Regions from separate parts of the Homo sapiens genome. Here region 1 is linked to region 2. Evidence: promoter capture Hi-C in 16 types of primary human blood cells and fetal thymus (Javierre and others, 2016). All regions are on one chromosome and are shown on one strand. The core of a region is centred on a gene start or on the middle of the fragment in contact, and the rest is flanking DNA. Distances in the headings are between cores, read along the strand shown. Region 1 overlaps CASP3 (caspase 3). Region 2 holds the start of CENPU (centromere protein U).

Region 1 (2,700 bases), core at 187-2,686, 110 kb before region 2:
TATAGAACCACCGCTTTCATATGGCCTTAAAGAACTCATTTATGCTACTCTCTACTCCTCAGAAACAGAAGTCTCCTTTTCCTAGTTAGGACAATTTATTTTGTTTCTGATTTAAAAGTAATATATTTTCATTACAGAAATATTGGAAGAAATTTAAAACCACCCACAACCCCACTTTCCTATATTCCTTTTCTAAGCATATGAAGTAAAAAGACAGCAAATTCCTCTGTCAAAATCCCAGCGCCCAGAGGAGGCCATCAGTAAACATCAACGGCTTGTTGTATATCCTCTTAGGTTGTTCTTCCCATTAGACACTTATCTTGTGGAAAAAGTTTCAAATTCACACATATGGTCATATTTAAGGCCTGAGATCTATGCAAACAAAGTATCTTCCTGGCATTGTGGTCATTTCAGGGTCAGGAACTTCTGCGAGGACTTGGGAAGCATAAGCGATCTGTCTGCCCTGATCTAACTGCCACCACCTCAAAAAACTAGGCTAGGGTTCTGGTGCTTCCTCTTTGACTCTTCCAAATCAAGCTTCTGATTAAAAACATTTTAACTTCCAATTAGTGGCACAACATCAAAAACAACAGCAACAAAAAACTCAAAGACATTGGTAATTTTAAGTTTGAATGTATATTTTGAAATAAAAATGGAAAATAACAAATTTGTACAAAATTGTCACATAGAAACACACTTTAAGATACCATTACATGCTATGTGTATTTACAAAAGTTACAGGTCTAGTAAGAAAAAAGAAACTGTCATTGACAAATGCGAGCTCATTTTTTGAGCAACAAGAAATCTCCCGTGAAATGTCATACTGACAGCCAGTGAGACTTGGTGCAGTGACGGCTCCGCACCTGCTGAGGCCTGGAGCCTGCCTCCCGGGCTGAGGGCTCAGCTCTGGCCTCCGGCTGGATGCCGTCTAGAGTCCTATGTGCTCATAGGTCTTTTTCTTTCAGTAAACAGTATAAAACATTACTATTTTCCTTTGATTGTAAACTTCAACAGAAAATAACATACTTAAGAATTTTGCTACAAAGAGTACTATGATTTTTATTGCCTCACCACCTTTAGAACATTTCCACTTCACAAGTTTCTGATTTGCTTCACTTTCTTACTTGGCGATGGCGCCCTGGCAGCATCATCCACACATACCAGTGCGTATGGAGAAATGGGCTGTAGGCCCTTCCTGCGTGGTCCATGGCTCTGCCTTCATGGAACAGGCTGAGTCATGTCTCTGCTCAGGCTCAAACCATCTACTCTCAAGTTACAGGCAGCTCAGCCCATTCATTTATTGCTTTCCTTATATTCCACTGTTTATTATTTAAGTTGTATTTTCATATGTTCCTATAGAATTTATTCACATTACCTGGCTAATAATCAACAGTTTGGGGTTTTTATATAATAGCTCTTCAGATATATTGCTGGTATATGAAGCTCAACTGATATGCATAGGGACAAATCAGAAGATATTTATGCTGGTAGATCCAGGGGCATTGTAGCACCTTACAGTTAAAACTCCACCCCTCTATGAATGTTAAGTTTTAGCCTTAAAAGTCAAGTTAGTTTGCTCACACTTTCTCTCACATAAAATATTAGTTTCTTTCTCAATATTAAACATTATTATTATTTTTTTACAACAAAAGTGTTCAGGACAAACATCACAAAACCATAATCCCAGATAAATGGTCTAAAAATGCAGTTAAGTCATCCGTGTATATCAATTCTAAAATAAAGGTTTGAGCCTTTGACCATGCCCACAGATGCCTAAGTTCTTCCACATCATCATTTCTACAGTTTGACAAAACTAGAATACACAGTCTTAAGTGGGGGGAATATCATAAAAATTCATTACTTCAATGTTTAACTTTTTCACAATTACTTGAAAATTCATAGCACAGCATCACTGTAACTTGCTAATCATGAAAGCTGTAAATTAACAATCATTGCCTCTCATAATGACTGCACCAGTATCCATTTTTATTTATTCCTAATTTAATTCAATTGCAACTACCTGACTGGAAGTTTGAGGTAGCTTCATAGTGGTTCTATTTGATGGAAGGAGTATGTCTTAAAGTACCCTCTGCAGCATGAGAGTAGGTCAAAATGAGAGGGAAATACAGTACCAAATATACCATCTTCTCACTTGGCATACAAACTAAAAAAAACCACCAACCAACCATTTCTTTAGTGATAAAAATAGAGTTCTTTTGTGAGCATGGAAACAATACATGGAATCTGTTTCTTTGCATGAAAAGTAGCGTCAAAGGAAAAGGACTCAAATTCTGTTGCCACCTTTCGGTTAACCCGGGTAAGAATGTGCATAAATTCAAGCTTGTCGGCATACTGTTTCAGCATGGCACAAAGCGACTGGATGAACCAGGAGCCATCCTTTGAATTTCGCCAAGAATAATAACCTAAAAGGCAAAATACAAGCAAAATACCATGGATAGCTGATTTTAGTTGATTCTATAAATTATTATGTAGTCATAAAGGCAAAAATAAGCATAAACTTACATAAGTCTTATTAGTCATACAAATAAAAAAAAAAAGACACCTTTGGTTTCAGAAGAAATGATGCTGAAGGACGAATGTGTGCTATGCGTACACCCCCTGCTTTCAGCAAAGCTGGCCGGGGACCAGCTTCACGAACACTGAATTATTGAAAGTTTTACTTTCTGGACTCCCCTTTCA
Region 2 (2,700 bases), core at 201-2,700:
CTTGCCTTACGCTGGAGTCAAGGTGGGGCTTCTGAGAGACAGAAACCTCTGTGACAACCCACAGGTAAAATTTCTGGGCCAGGCGCGGTGGCTCATGCCTGTAATCTCAGCGCTTTGGGAACCCCAGGAGGGCGGATCACGAGGTGAGGAAATCAAGACCATCCTGGCCAACATGGTGAAACCCCGTCTTTACTAAAAATACAAAAATTAGCTGGACGTGGGGGCGAGCGCCTGTAATCCCAGCTCCTCTGGAGTCTGAGGCAGGAAAATCGCTTGAACCTGGGAGGCGGAGATTGCGCCACTGCACTCCAGCCTGGGCCACAGAGTGAGACTCCGTCTCAAAAAAAAAAAAAAAAAAAAATTCTGTTGTATGTGCGTAAGTGTGTTTTGGGAGGAGGCATGAACAGATTTCATGAGTCTCAAACCCAAAAATGTTAAAAGATAAAAATAAAAAAAGACAACAAAAACCACTAGCCTTTCAGATAAACTCTTTTCAGCTGACATTGAAGGCTGACATTCTCTTCTAATCCTTTTTTGCACTGGGGGAGTCTTCATTCTCCTCCACTGGCCACAGAAGTCTGGTCTCGGTTTCCCCACCCACCTGCGGTGTCCTGCTCCAGCTTTTCCACCCTAACCCCGCATCTACCAGCACCTCCTCCTCCAGGCAGCCTTCCCAGGCCCGGGGGAACTCCTGTTCTCTTCAGATCGTCTTGGCGTATGGCTTTGTGCACCGTCTGCAGCAAGCCGAGACCCTTCCCGCCAGATCCAGGCCGGGCCTTGGATGGCCATTCGCCAACGAATCAGCGACCAGCATTCTAGAGCGCGTTTTGCAACCGACCAAACGCTCGCTTTCTTTGGTAAACAAAAACCGCTCGAGCCATCCTGGAGAACCGCAAGCGGCAGCTCGGTCCCCCAGCCGGATTTATGCTCCAGTTTACGGTCTGTGGTTTGCAGTAAGAAAACACCAGGGTCTTCAAAATAAGAAAACTGATTCCCAGTCAGAGAATAAAACTCCACTAACAAAGTCTGGCAAACCGCAGGCAATACGTATTTGCTGAATATTTTGCTTTCAAGCTAGCACTTTGAGACTCACTACTTTGGACGGCACTCCCCCTCCCCACAAAACGACACGACACTGGCTGACGTCTCTCCCACCCGCCAGGCAGTGTTAGGCCCCGACAGGCCCGTGCAGGTGGGATCACTGTTATCCCCACTAGACTGAGGAGGAAGCCGGGGACCCGGGCGATTGGCCACTCGGGCGACCTCCACAGTGGAGCACCAACAGCGCCGGGAGGCGCAAACCACGGCAGGCGAGGAAGCAGTTCAAGCTGGTCTCCGGCCCCGCGCTCCCGAGGGTCGGCAGTACTTACCCCTCAGACCTGTGAGGCCGCGGCCGCCGCCGCCCCCGCGGGGCCATGGTGCCGCTCTCCGCTCTCGAGCGACTGGAAGCTCCCGCCAAGCCCCTCGCCGCTCCGAACAGCCAATCCGGGCCGAGCACGCGCGCGTGCGCAGGACTTCCTGAGCGGCCCCCGGGCTCCTCCCTGGCCTGGAGCGTGAGGGAAAACTGGGTCTGGTTATTACAGCGCAACGGAGCTGGAGTCCATGCCGCACAACCAGTTACCTACGGTCCAAAACATGCCAAAGTTTTCCGGGCTTTCGCGCCCACCCGCATCGCCAGTTTTCCGGCGCCAGAAAGCCCGGGAGCCACGTGGGACGGCCCCTTGTGGGGTGGGGAAAGGGGAGGAGCTAGTGTCCCTGAGTCGTGGGCAGGTAAGAGGGTGGGTGGAGACCCGTGTTCGCAGCTGTTGTCGCTGAGGCCGCAGTCGTCTTTCCAGGCCTACAGGATTTGGCTTCCAGCCCCTGCTGCCTTTATCAGCTGTCTGAGCTTAGCATGTTACTTTACCGCTATCCCAATACCTTCATTTGTAAATGGACAGGGTTCCTTTTGTTCTTTTATTTTGTTTGTGTTTAAAAATGTGTAATGCAGAAGAATGTAATTGAACCCTTACCTTACACCGCGTATAAAAATTAACGCAAAATGAATCAAAGACCTAACTATAAAGGCTAAAATTAAAACTCTTAGAAGAAAACAGAGCAAAAACTTCATAACATTGGACTTGGTATGATTTCTTGGATATGATACCAAAAGCAGTTTGGGATGATGAAAACGTTCTGGAAATAGTGGTGGATGGATGCACAAGGTGAAGGTACTTAATGCCACAATACTGTAAAGTTAAAAACGGTTAAAATGCTAAATTTTGTTATGTATATTTTACTACGACAAAAATATTACGTTTCATGCATATGAAAGAATATAACGTGTAATGTAAAGATAAAAACAAACATCCGTGTAACCAGCACTACATGGGGATATGGATCATTTTTATATATAACTCTTGGGTACCCCTCTGAATGGTATCCTCCTCCTCCAAAGAATAACCACTCTTCTGATTTTATGTGTATCATTCCTGTGGTTTTCTACCTTGATATAGCCCCAAATAATGTATTGATTATTGTATGTTTCTAAACTTTATATGATATTTGGTAGGTATGCTGCAAGTGCCCTTTCTTACTAAAGCTATTGCTTTTATTTTTTATTTATTTTATTTTTCCATAAATTATTGGGGTGCAGGTGCTATTTGGTTACATGAGTAAGTTCTTTTTTTTTTTTTTTTTTTTTTTTTGAGTTGGAGTTTTGCT

What was found. Contacts are between HindIII fragments. The CHiCAGO score rates a contact against its expected background, and 5 or more counts as called.
Region 1: a fragment that was not itself captured here is called in contact with the fragment with the promoter of CENPU in region 2 in 1 of 17 cell types (erythroblasts); the score reaches 5.7 in erythroblasts.

The regions. Positions count from the first base shown.
Region 1 is chr4:184,627,079-184,629,778 of GRCh38, forward strand. It overlaps CASP3 (caspase 3), which reads right to left. Exons shown (of 8, transcript NM_004346.4): 8 at 618-2,423. The coding sequence ends at 2,194. Among named protein-coding and RNA genes, the nearest start is that of LINC02365, 3.6 kb to the left of the region's middle. The HindIII fragment of the contact is 1,803 bases long and covers 536-2,338 here.
Region 2 is chr4:184,732,646-184,735,345 of GRCh38, forward strand. CENPU (centromere protein U) reads right to left here and starts at 1,451. Exons shown (of 13, transcript NM_024629.4): 1 at 1,371-1,451. The coding sequence starts at 1,417. RefSeq lists enhancers at 891-1,757, 908-1,027 and a silencer at 1,398-1,457. The HindIII fragment of the contact is 4,927 bases long and covers 1-2,700 here.